Regions from separate parts of the Homo sapiens genome. Here region 2 is linked to region 1. Evidence: promoter capture Hi-C in 16 types of primary human blood cells and fetal thymus (Javierre and others, 2016). All regions are on one chromosome and are shown on one strand. The core of a region is centred on a gene start or on the middle of the fragment in contact, and the rest is flanking DNA. Distances in the headings are between cores, read along the strand shown. Region 1 holds the start of RIPK2 (receptor interacting serine/threonine kinase 2). Region 2 overlaps CPNE3 (copine 3).

Region 1 (6,854 bases), core at 4,355-6,854:
GGTATTCAGAGATAATTTATTAATATTTGGCCTGCTAATTCAGAACTTTATGAACTGGTATTAATAACATTAAATTTGAATTTGAAATTGCTATTAATATAAAATAAAATATCACTTAACAGTGGATTTTACAGTATGCAGAGTTTATCTCTTCCATTTCTACCCATGTAATATGCATGTAAATACTATAATTTGGTATAAATGTTAGGAATGGTAACCCAGGCAAAATAATCTAGAGTACAGGGCCTGAATCCACAGTGTTTTAATCAACACAAAAATGTCACAAAAGGTAAAATTTTATCCCTGTGATAGTTTTTCATTATTCTTTGATTCATCTATATACCCCTAAATAATCTGACCAAATATAAAATCAAAGTAAAATATAGTTTGAATAGTAAAAATGGCAATTATGGCCACTAAAACTGTGTAATACTTACCCTATGTAGGAGTTCATTTAATGATCCATTTGGCATGTATTCAGTAACTATTCCCAAAAATTCAGGCTCATTGCAAATTCCCAAAATTGGAAGAATGTAACTAAATCTAGCTTTGTGTAAAATTTCAGCTTCTCTTAAGACATCCTTTCTTTCACTAAGAAAAAAAAATGCATAATTATTCAAGTAATAAAAAAATATACAATTATCATGCCTATAAGACTAAGCCTGGATTTTTTTTCATTAATTAGCTATGTGACCTCATGTAAATTATGCAACTTCTCTGCACCTTAGTTTCATCATATTTAAAATAGAAATAATACCTACCCTATATATTCCACAGGTCTGTTTAGAGACCAAACTAACTTCTATAAGCCATTGACAGGTAAAAGTGCTAAACACAGGTTTATTATTATTGTACTTATCCCAGGAATGGGAAAGAACATAGTATTAAATTTATAAAGTCTATCTATGTTAGAACAATTGGTGCTTGAACTAATTACATGATTAAGTTTACATTGTATTCAAATGAGCATGTTTTATTAGAATATTATATTAAATTTTATGGTTGCATACCATATAAACATTTTCCAAATATCCTGAATATTAAAACCTTTAAATGTTATAGATTCAATAGCTGCATAAAAGTCAGTAATATTTATAAATTATATACCAGAACTCAGGAAAAGATCACTGAGAACAGGTAAATGCTCAATAATATTAATAGACTGCTGGGGTAACTGGCTCCCAGGTTCATTTGTTTATTCATATGTAAAACAAATATATATTTAACTATTTTTTTTTCTATTTTTCTTTGTCACCCTGGCTAGAGTGCAGTGGTGTGATCACAGCTCACTATAGCCTCAAACTCCTGGATTCAAGCCATCCTCCCACCTTAGCCTCCCCAGCAGCCAGCTAGCTCCACAGGCATGCAACCGTGCCTATTTTTTTTTTGTAGAGACAAGGTCTCACTATGTTATTCAGGGTGGCCTCAAACTCCTGGGCTCAATTGTATCAGACGTCCAATAGGTAGGTATCAAATGATTTCAAGGAAATTAAAGGGAAGGCTAAAGTTGGGAAATTGTGAATTGTTTAATGCACTCCTTTTATGTAATATAAAAGGAGTGAAGGTGAATAAGACAGGTTAGGGACATATCTCAGTCTTAAAGCCTGGTTAGGGTGGTGAAACTTCACTTAGCAGTCACTAAGTGATTGACGGTTTGTTTGCTTTTTTTAACATACAGAATACACACTGGAAACTTTTTTTTTTTTTAACAGACCAGATCTTGCTATGTCGCCCAGACTGGCCCTCCCTACTCTGCCTCTTGAGTAGCTGGGACTACAGGGGTGTGCCAATGTACCTGGTGTGACTGAAAGTTTTTGAGTTGGGGAATGACAGTAGAATACAATTTTAAGATGATCAATTTGGCAACAAGATGTAGGATTAGTAGAAAGTGGTAGAGTTTGAAAGTCAGGTGTTAGGAGATTTTAATACCAGTTAATACATGAACCTAAAACTACAAAGGTAGCAGTGGAAATGGAAAGAAAAACACTAAGTGAATAGAATGCCCGCGTTGTAGTGACTGACTGTAGGGGGTTAAAAAAAAAATGAAAAGGAATTGGAGATGTCATTATTTTTTTACCCTGAGTGACTGGATGTTGGCTGCAGCAATGACAGAAATAGAAATGTTTCCAGGAGAAGCCTATTAGGTAAGTAATGATGATAAGTTAGTTCTTACACCTCCCAAGCTCTGAATGAATGGCTGTTGAAATATGAATAGCAACAGACATTCTAGACCAGACTAAGAGGACTACTTTTAAAAACAAACAAAAAAACAAAGCAAAAGAATCTTCGTCATTTATTTTTTGAATAGGTCATATATTTATATGTCTTAAAATTCAAGAGTAACAAGAAGGCATAAAGTGAAAAGCTTCTCTCATTCTCTGTCCTTCAATCACTTAATACTCCAACTGCTAGGAAACCAGTATCAGTTTGTGAGACCCATTTTAATTAAATGTTTATTCCCTAGATGGAAATAGTTCCATATCTGCCCCAAGAGATTTAGGCCAACAATAGAGGATGACCCTGAAGATTCCTGGATACTAAGAACAATAGAGAGTGCATGCTGCAGAAGTCTCAGTGACACTTCACACACTCTTTCCTCCTCCCATTAAGAGGCATTCTTCTTTCCACTGTGACCCTATTACATGTCAGTCACTTTATATGCACTAGCATCTTAAGATCACCCTCTAAACATAGTTTCATTAGCTCCACTTTATAAATGAGGGCACTAAGGCTCAGAAAAATTAATACTTTTCTAATGGTCACACTAATAAGTGGCAGGGTTGGCGTCAGATTTGAATTGCAATCATGGGACATTAAAGCCTGCATTCTTTCTACCCTATTGCTTGATCAAAGAATATAGTAGGAAAGTTCTTGAAGGTAGATTTTTGGCAAGATTGAGTGAGTGGGAAATTTTTTTTAAAGCCAAAAGATTTTAAAAATTGATTTTTACATTTTGAAAATAAAGGTGTAAAGTACAGCTTCCATAGTCACATCACCAAAATTAACTCAAAAATTTAATCAGAAAAGTTATGTCATCTACAGGGTATTTGAACAACCAATTGGACTCATTACTCATAAGGGGTGGGAAGATTGTTGGGGAAGGTCCACTCATCGGATAGAAGTCAGGTTATGGAGACTGATTCACCAGTCATTAAAATAAGAGCATGTAACATTGCATAAACTTATTTTTTTTCAGGTCATCCCAAAGAACAATGCAAACATTGTTCTCCATAGTCCGAGAAACACATGTATTTATTATTCGTATTTTATAAGTGAGGAAAGAGACACCAGTGAGTCAACTGCATAGCCTCATCTAATGCTCAGACTACATAAATACTGCAATGATAAGATCTTAAGTAACAAATTGGAGAAAAGAATGTGATGCAGTAAATGCCAGAGTGTTTCGCTGGTCTTATGGCTTCCTCGAAGACAGAATTAATTTCCTACCCAATTCAGTGAAGAATTTTAGACTATGAAAATTGTTCATGAGTATGGGAAGGAAACTCCCTCTTCACTTCTTGGTCCCCAAACTGCACAAAGCTTAGATAAATCAAAATCCTGAGAAGCAGCACCCAAAGTGGGAGGATCAATTGGCTTTTCAATACCTAATGGGTCCATCAGTGCTACATTTCCATATAGTGTTTGCATAACTGGTTCTAACATATATCCACCCTCTCTAACCAACCACCACCCTTAAAAGTTGACTACAGACACATATACACACTTGTCCAGCACTTGCTCCACAGAATATAAGGCCTGGAGTAAACAGACACCACACCTTGTATATCACTGAATCTGGATTATGATAGACAAGAAGTGGAAACAAGCTCTAGAAGTGTCCCAAATCTCCTGTGCCATTTAGGCCATCGAAGCCTGACAGTGAGAGACAATGAAGAAAAGCCACAGGCAGGTGAAAATCCAGTAACTTTGGCAGGGCGGAAGCTGAGGAATTTATCTGATGCTGGATACTCACAGCTTCTGGCCAATCAGGCATCGGGGATGACGTATTTTCACATTAGATATAGGAGGAGGAGAAGAGAATGTTGTAATCATGGATGTTAACTCACTAAGAACTGAATGCTGGGCCTAGTTAAATCCCTGTAGGAAGTAAAATACACAAGACTAGTGACCCATTGACTAATACACAGTCACAGGTCTATGGCACGCGGTTGTAATGTTCTTCTGAAAACAGAAACTAATGCTAACCTTCCCTTAAAACCTGTACAAACCAATAAGTGAAAGCCATTTACAATTTCTGGCCATTTAACAGTCTTTTGGTTCAATTTATTGTGGCAAAAATAGCACACATTTCCTCTACTTAATCTTCCCTGTGAGAGAAACTGAGACTGGGAGAAACTGAACTGCTAGTATTGAGTTTGATATAAAACGTTCCTGACAACACATAATAAACCAAAACCAAAATAAAAACAATAAGAAGCAAAACATCCTTGATTCTAAAGCAGTGCGGTCCAATAAACATATAATGTGAACACCACCACATACAATTTAAAATTTTCTCGTGGCCACATAAAGTAAAAAGAAACACATAAAATGAATTTTAATCTTATATTTAACCCAAGATATCAAAAATGTTATTTCAGCATATAATCAATAAACAAATAATAAAATATTATAAGTTCTTTTTTTAATAAATACTAAGCATTCGAACTCTGGTATTTTACACTTAGGTCACACTTCAATTCGGACGGGCACATTTCAAGTGCTCAATAGCCACCTGTGGCTAAGAGCTACCTACTGGACAGTGCAGCCCTACAGCCCAATTTCAAAAATAAGGAAAAAACAAAGCAAACAAAACCCACACCCACTATATATAAACACACATCAATTTCAGTAAACCCAGCGTTTAGAGTTAGGCAGTGATTGCTGATTTTTGGAGTACGGAGCCAGAACGCCTAGGAGTAAGAGGGAAGGAGAGAAAGGGTAATGGAGAGATGTGTGGAGGAATGCAACTGCTGCATCTCCAGAGAAGCCTGTGCTCCCTACGGTGCCAGAGCTTGAAGGGTGGGTGCTCCCTATCTCCCAAGCTTGAAGGGCTCCCTAGAGGTGACGAGGTGAGGCCGGCCCCAAGCGGTCACTGCCATTTGGGCTCTAGAGCCCGCTTGTCAGGGGGCTTGAGGGGATGCAGGAGTTGAGGGCTCTTCCAGGGAACCCCAGTGACTGCCTACCTGTCGAGCAGCGGAGTGTGGATGTGCAGGTGCTTCACGGCCACCTGGACGCGCCAGTCTGCGTGGCGGGCGGACGACACAGTGCCAGAGGCGCCGCGGCTCAGGTAGCGCAGGTCGGCGAGTTTGTGGTAGGGAATGGTGGGCAGGGCGCTGCAGATGGCCTCCCCGTTCATGGTCCCGGGCGCTCAGGCCGGTTCCGGGTGTGCCCCCTGCTGCGGCGGCTCCCAAGGCTCCCACGCCGCGCTCAGGCGCCCAGATACGCCCCTGCACGAGCGAGGCCGGCAAGACCCTTTTTGCCCCGCAACACTAGGTCACGAGGGCGCCCATTCCCCGGATGGCCCACGCCAGCCGCTGCTTCTCCGAACCAGAGCTGACTTCTTTTCTAGAGACTGGTGCCAACGCCGTAGCGCCGCGAAAGAGCTTCCTCTCTCGCAGCCCCGGCCCTCCCCCCGGCGCGCGCAGCGACCAGCTCCGGCCGCCCGAGCTCCTCCCTCCCCAAACTTCGCAGGTTACGTCAGCGGCGGACGGCAAGGCGGGGAGAGGGGCAGCCCGCTCGCGGCCCTCCCGCCTGGCTCTCGCCTCGGCCTGCGGCCGGGATCCTCCGCCCGGGTCGCGCAGCGGAGGCCGAGGGCTGGGACGGGCGGCTGGGAAGTGGGAAAGGGAGCTCCTTTTGTCTTCTCTTCCCATCCCCCAGGTTTGGGAAAGTTTTCCTTTTGGGAAAGCCCCTCTCTTCAGCCTGCTGGCGGGTGTCGGATTGGTTAGCGACCACCGGCCCCCGCCTCCCCCAACAGGATTCTCCTTTGGGCCACAGGTCTTCCGGAAGTTGCCAAACCCCGGTAGCGGCAGCGTCCGGCTGGGGGCTTTATTAGGGGGCACCGGGGTCTGCTTTCCGACTCCCTTCCGACTCCGCGCCTGCGCAGGAAGCGATTTGGGGAGTGTTGTGAATTCCGAGGGCTCCACACTTAAGAGGTTGTACACTCACCTGTCTACCTGGACTCCAATTTCCATATTTCCAGCCACTTGAGGACTGAGAGGTGGATGATAAACCCTGTCATAGTGGAGCAAGTTCAGGTGTTTAACCGCTGTTATGGGGGATCTGCCTTTTCTCCCTCTTCTTTCTTACTTCCATAAGTATGTATGTGCAGAGATTGAAAAATAACCTTGAGAGAGTCCATCCATCTAACTCCAGGTAAGACTGCAAATATTTCTTTCTTATAAATCTGGGAGGAATGCAGTCAGTGTTTCATGCCAACCAAAAAAGACTGCAAACGTTTTTCCATCCTTCTGCCTTGAATACCTTTCTACTTAGATGACTATTTTGTAAGACGTGAGTGCAAATGTTATATACAATACCAACTCCATACTAGATGTTTAATTAATTCTAGGGATTCAGTAATAAGGAATGACTCGAACAGATTTCTGCCTACAGACAGCTAATGCTTCTTGTATTTTTGCATTACCTGAAATGAAAGTAGCAATGTTAGATTTTACAGTAGTGGGAGGTTGTAAACAATAGTATGTTAAACATTTTTGATCATTTATAATAAAATGTTCAGCACTAAACATATGGTCTGATACTCTGTGCTTTATTGCTTAATAAGCTTTTTTTTTTCTTTTCGAGAGGGAGTCGTGCTCTGTCACCCAGGCTGGAGTGTAGTGGCGCGATCT
Region 2 (6,854 bases), core at 1,345-3,844, 3.2 Mb after region 1:
AGGAGTTCGAGGCCACAGTAAGCTATGCACTGCAGCCTGGGTGACAGAGCAAGACCCTGTCGCAAAAAAAAAAAAAAAAAAAATTATGATGAGGAAAAATAAAACAAACGTTTTATACTCTTTTAGTATGAAAGATTTGGCTGGGATAAGTCACCTGGCAAAGAATGCATGAGCAACTAAAGAAGAATTCTATGTAGTATTTTACTCCTTAAAGAGCAGGATAGAAAACACAAATAATCCCTAGGATTAGACAACAGCTTCCCTACTGTACAGATTATTACTTGTTGGACAAAATTTGATCCAAACACGTCTTCTGAAATGCAAATAATCCCTAGAAACACCAAATATATCAATAATTCTCCCAGTCACCCTAACGTTCTGAATCAATATTATAACAGAGATAAACATAAGGAGCTGAGAATTAAGACCTAATATTTAAAGTGGTACCTGATATGTGAAATTTAAGGCATCTGGTCATTCCCATGCCCTGGCTGAAAATCCTGAAGTCTTATCTACTTCCTCTTTTCCCATTCCTCCTTAAACCTACTCTTAGATTTATCCAGTAAAGATGTCATAGAGATTCTGCCTACTAGAACCCCAAATCTCTCCCAAACATGGAGATACAGCCGCTTTCCCATACCCAGAGTCACAACCCTAACTTCAGGTCTTCTGTATCTCTCACCTGCCTTATATAATAGTCTCCTAATGGGTATTCCCACTGCCATTTTCTCTCCATTCACATTATGGTTTTATCACTTCTGATTAAAAAGTGATAGTCCAATGAACTAAGCCTGGAATTCATGGCTCTGCCAACATCTACCCCTAATCTACCTGAACAGCTACCTCTGCCCACCCAAGTTCTTCAAGATCCACTTCAGGCCGGGCACGGTGGCTCACACCTGTAATCCCAGCACTTTGGGTGGGCGAGGTAGGGGGATCACTTGAGGTCAGGAGTTCAAGAACTCAGCCTGGCCAACATGGTGAAACCCTGTCTCTACTAAATATACAGAAATTAGCCAGGTGTGGTGGCAGGTGCCTGTAATCCCAGCTACTCGGGAGGCTGAGGCAGGAGAATCACTTGAACCAAGGAGGTGAAGGTTGCAGTGAGCCGAGATGGTACCACTGCACTCCAGCCTGGGCGACAGAGTGAGACTCTATCTCAAAACAAAACAAAACAAACACTTCAAATGATACTTCATTCATACAGCTGTTGCTGATACCCTGCTGATACCCCTCATGCTGTTATGGCACTGATTCTATTTTCTTTCCACTATTGTTACTTGTATTTGTGGCTCATCACTCCGTCTATATACTGTGAACTGTGGGCAGCGAACATATTTTACCACTTCCTCTTCTTCCTGAAGCATGACATCTGGCACAGGTTATTTGTAGCAGAAAGAGCAATAATGCTGGAGTCAGCGTGTGTCATTCAAATTTCTTTCCCATCACTAATTTGGATGTGTCACCTCTGCCAAATTGTCTATCTGAACTTCAATTTCCTAATTTATAAAATGGGGATATTAAAAAACCCTGACACTAGTCCTTCAATGTAAATAAGGCTAAGAGAGAAAAATAAACTTAATAAAAACCCTGACAACTGTAGGTCTGTAGCATGCTCAGCATATAATAGACACTCTATGAATTGTAGCAATTATTTTATTACTGAGTCAGGGATTTTAATTGATTGTCTCAGCATAGATGGCTTGTTATTAAGTAGTAAGACATAAAGCAGCTTTCTCATCCTTACTTATGAAAAGCTTCTTGAAACAATAATGATTTTTGGGATTTACATAAAATTAATTTGGTGAAATAGTCAGCCTTGAGTATAGATAAGGTACGCAGGTGAGGGGAGCGCAGGCTCATGTCAGTGACTCAAAATGTGTCCTAAAACAATTGTGAAGGAGAAGTCGGTGCCTATCTACAAATCCCTTTAGTAAAGTTCCTTCAGTCTTCAGCTGAAAAATGAAGAGACTGGCCTAATGTAAAAAATTCTCAGAAGTTCTTTCTGGTTCTAATACCATGATTCACTAACTGCTATTCTGCAGTACATCCTGCCTGACCGCTATTGAAAGCAAGCAAGGGCAACCCTGGGGCAGCTGGAACCGGCCCAGCAACATCAGCAAAACACACCCTAGGCAGTGTTTCTCAAATTGTGTTGCTCAGAATAGTAATAAGTGTTCCCCTACTAAAAAAAAAAAAAAAAAAAAAAAAAAAAAGCAGCGGGCGTCAGGTAATATGGCTGTAAATCCAAAGGCTGCTATGCTCCTCAGAGTTCCCAGGTCAGACTAGCAAATGTATTTATTACCAGGTTACTGTAAACCCATTATTTTGCTAAGGACAGCAGGGACATTATACAGCAACAGAAGCGCTTGTAGCTCATTATAATCAAATTGGGGAGACCCATTCATAAAACAATTACTTACTGAATACTTTCTAGGTGTTCCAAAAGTGAGGGTTGGGGGAGGCAAAAACGAAATAAATACTTAGCTACTTAGCTAACTATGTATACATAGAAATAGTATACAAGAGTATAAAATTGTGTGGTACAGACAGGGAACAATCAAAGTGCTCTTGGAGCTGAAGAAGCTCCCCAGAGATTTCTACTTTTACTGACGATTAAAACTATACTCCACTACAAAAAGAATTTGCAGTATTATTGCTACTGACTACCAGATTTCTTTTTCACCCTTACATTCAAGGGTAGACAGTAAGAAAGTGGGGAGTAGAAGAATAAGGGGAAAGAAAAGATAGTTAATAATTCCATACAACTGGACAGATTTTGTTTTTTTTTACAATTTTCAAAGTGCTTCCAAATAATATATTATCTTCTGAACCTTACAAAAACTCTGTGAGTTAGGCAGGATAATGATTACTACATGGTGGAAGGTCCATATGTCACAGGTATGACTATAATATAAGGCACTCCAGTGTCTGAATTGATTGACCCAGAATATGTTGATAATTTTCAGCACATTGTTAATCTTCAAAATAATGCATAGTATATATTAGGAAAAAAATATAAATTTCTTCAAAAAGGTTAAATTACTTACATGGGATCACAAAGCTAGTAAGTGTCACCACCACAGCATAAACCCAGGTATTTTCCCCTTTATGCCAAAATCCCTTCAGAGCACTAAAGCCTCTAATTAATAGTTAATTAGCTGTCAAGTAAAAATAGTATTAGTAAAAATAAATAAACTCCATAGATGTAAACAATTATGATTTTTCAATTAAAAACAATATCAAAAAATAGTTACTTAGTATAACAGCAATATTCTCTATTAATTTCCTTAAGTCTTGTTAATATCAAAAGTAATATTCAGCCTGACACAAATTAATAAAATAGGAACTTTAAAATTACAAGGTTAATACTGAGGCTAAAACTAGTTATATGGTTCTTAAACAAACGTAACCAGAATAACAAAAGCTTGCCAAAGAATGGAAGAACTGGAATGGTTTATATTTTATTTACCTCATAGCAGTTCCTCTTCAAGATAACCCATTAAATTGTAAATTACTTAAGGCTAAGAAAGCAAGTTCTCCTTGCTAGTGTGTCTCTACACACACAGGTCTGCCATGTGTGTAGGTGCCATTAGATCGTCTTAGAGCAGCAACATTTATTCTCAGGAATATACTGCACTTAATATCCAGACTCTGAGAGTAAAAAACTCACATTAAAAGAATTTAAACTACGCTTGTTCTGTATTTAGTAACAAAGTGATGCCCAGATGTATTTTTTTAATCACTACCACAGGATACCAGAAATGAAGATAGGGAATAATGTCAAGCATAAATATACATAAAACAAAACAAAAAAGAAACAAAAAGGAAGAATCACTGGATCAGGTGTCAAAAGAAATGGACTGGGCAGATCACCTGAGGTCAGGAGTTTGAGACCAGCCTGGTCAACATGGCAAAACCCTGTGTCTACTAAAAACACAAAAATTAGTTGGGCATGGTGCACTGTAGTCCCAGCTACCTGGAAGGCTGAGGCAGGAGAATCACTTGAACCCAGAGGTAGAGGTTGCAGTGAGCCAAGATTGCGCCACTGCACTCCAGCCTGGGTGACAAAGCAAGACTCCGTCTCAAAAAAAAAAAAAAAGAAATGCCTGGTTCTGTGTTAGTCACACCACAATGGCAGGCATTTGGGCAACTGCTGTAACTTCTCCAGGCTTCAGGTTTTTTCAGCTGTTAAATCTTTTTTTTTTTTGAGATGGACTTTCACTCTTGTCGCCCATGCTGGAGTGCAATGGAGATCTTGGCTCACTTGCAACCTCCGCCTCCTGGGTTCAAGTGATTCTCCTGCCTCAGCCTCCTGAGTTGCTGGGATTACAGGCGCTGCCATCACGCCCAGCTAATTTTTGTATTTTTAGTAGAGACGGGGTTTCACCATGTTGACCAGGCTGGTCTCGAACTCCTGACTTCAGGTAATCCGCCTGTAATCTGCCCACCTTGGCCTCCCAAAATGCTGAGATTACAGGCGTGAGCCACTGCGCCCAGCCTTCAGCTGTTAAACCTAAGAGTTGAGTCAATCCCTTTCTTTAAGTAATTCTTAAGGTCTTTTCCATTAATGTACTATAACCCTAATTTAATTACAGTGAATATGGAACTTGTTTAGGAAGTGGTACTAAAGGATTTTTTAAAATGAATAGAAAACATTAGAATATTTATAAGTACAAAAAGGAGAAATGGAAGAAAAAGGATAAAGTTTTCCAAACTCAGTCTCCATCTCTATCAAAAAAGCTATATCTGGGGCCAGGTGCGGTGGCTCACGCCTGTAATCCCAGCACTTTGGGAGGCTGAGGCGGGCGGATGGTCTGAGGTCAGTAGTTCAAGACCATCCTGGCCAACATGGTGAAACCCATCTCTACTAAAAATACAAAATTAGCTGGGCATGATGGCGCCCACCTGTAATCCCAGCTACATGGGAGGCTGAGGCAGGAGAATCGCTTGAACCAGGGAGGCGGAGGTTGCAGTGAGCCAAGATCGTGCCATTGCACTCCAGCCTGGGCAAAAAGAGCCAAATTCCATTTCAAAACAAAACAAAAAAAGCTATATCTGAAAAAAATGTATCTAGAAACTTCTCCACTAGTTAGGTACCTTTGCTCAAAATTGTTATTAAGTGCTCAGATGACTTAAATAAACAAACAAACCACAGGGCCCAGTCTATTAAGTAGATGCAGCACAATAAGGAAATAAATTTTATTAGCATCCATGAAATCTCACATTATTAAGCTCTTAGCATCTATCATGGCAGCAAAATAAATCAGCTTTTAGCCACACTTCAAAAAGTTTCCAGATTCTTAAACTATCTTGAGCAGGATCTAAATAGTGATACCATTGCTGATGCTTGGACATGCAGAACGGAGGAAAGCAGGAATTAACAGGTGTGATCACTCTAACTTCAAAAATAAAAAGTAGGTGCAGTTTTACCTTCTCTTTATCATTACAAAGTAAGCAATCAACTAAAGACCCTTCATTAATTTCTCTAAAATCCTGGTATTGTTCTATTCCATGATTCATAACTGGCTACAAAGTTTACTTAACATATGTTTCAGGTTTTACCACTTTTCTAATCCCTTGGCTACTGTATATACATTTTGGAAGTATCACTGATTGTATTTTCAAGTCCATCAATTCAACAGTTCATCATAGGTTCATTTAGTGAGGTATTAATAAAAGTTATTAATAGAAGCAGGGTTGGGCCAGGCACGGTGGCTGATGCTTATAATCCCAGTACTTTGGGAGGCTGAGGCAGGCAGATGGCTGGAGCTCAACAGCAGCCTGGACAACATGGCTAAACCCCATCTCTACCAAAAATACAAAAATTAGCCAGGTGTGGTGGGGTGTGCCTGTGGTCCCAGTCATTCTGGAGGCTGAGGTGGGATTGCTTGAGCCTGGGAGGTGGAGGTTGCAGTGAGCCGAGATCATGCCACTGCACTCCAACCTGGGTGGCAGAGTGAGGTCCCATCTCACAAATAAATAAATAAATATTTTTTTTTAAAAAAGAAGGGCTATCAGAACTTATTAGCTACCTAAGCAGAAAAAATAAAATTAAAGTTAAAAAGTTAAAAATAAGAACTTACTAACATCAGTGTTGCTAAAGTTGGTATACACCCCCTACTGCTAAATTTGACTGGCTTAAGAAAAAAAGAAGCAGTGGTGATGTCTCACTACTGTCCCACTTTATGGAACATGCATCTTGGCAAAGCTGGCTATAAAATACATGTCTACAAAGTGAATCACCGTTTACCCTCAATGAAAATCAGTGCTGCATCCCCTAGCTGAAAATCCCAAGTGTTCAGTTGAAAAGTTTTCCATTATAAGGACTAAGTAAAGCTGCTGGCCAGCTGTGCAGCAGGCAGGCTGGATCTGATATTAAGGTACACCAACCTGTGAAGACTGAAGTCTCCTGGGGTTCTCATTCCCCTCAGACCACATTAAGAATTTCCCCCCTTCTGGAATTTCCCAGATGTTGAACCAGCCACCAGAACCTCTCACCTGCCCTGGTGTCCACCATGCCCCGACTCTAAATGCATGCTTTCCAAAATTTGACTCCTTTCCTTTTCTTTGTAGGGGAGCATGTATATTTAATTGGGCAAGATGGGCACTTCACAATTCATCACCGTGTGCTCCTTTCTAGTTCACGGTGAACAAATAATCTAAAAATGCCTTCAGTTTAAAGCAGCAACAACCACAACCATGTGGTTCTCAAGGTTTAAAAAGTTTGTATATTGGGCAAAGGCTGTTGAGATGTTTATACATTTCCTGATTTCAAGAATATTCATGTCCTGGTTGCTTAACACATCGTTTCAGCTGTTTTTAATTAGGGCAAATCCCTTTATATTTCCCAA

What was found. The method cuts DNA at HindIII sites, captures the fragments that hold promoters and counts their contacts. A CHiCAGO score of 5 or more calls a contact.
Region 2: a fragment that was not itself captured here is called in contact with the fragment with the promoter of RIPK2 in region 1 in 1 of 17 cell types (total B cells); the score reaches 5.6 in total B cells.

The regions. Positions count from the first base shown.
Region 1 is chr8:89,756,566-89,763,419 of GRCh38, reverse strand. RIPK2 (receptor interacting serine/threonine kinase 2) reads right to left here and starts at 5,604. Exons shown (of 11, transcript NM_003821.6): 1 at 5,187-5,604; 2 at 438-591. The coding sequence starts at 5,359. It overlaps PARAIL (palmitic acid regulated anti-inflammatory lncRNA), which reads left to right and starts at 5,709. Exons shown (of 5, transcript NR_125822.1): 1 at 5,709-6,375. RefSeq lists enhancers at 3,761-3,850, 5,129-5,198 and a silencer at 5,739-5,858. The HindIII fragment of the contact is 1,742 bases long and covers 5,048-6,789 here.
Region 2 is chr8:86,517,911-86,524,764 of GRCh38, reverse strand. The region is part of intron 2 of CPNE3 (copine 3); the gene reads right to left. Among named protein-coding and RNA genes, the nearest start is that of CPNE3, 6.9 kb to the right of the region's middle. RefSeq lists enhancers at 1,308-1,357, 1,378-1,477. The HindIII fragment of the contact is 1,670 bases long and covers 1,760-3,429 here.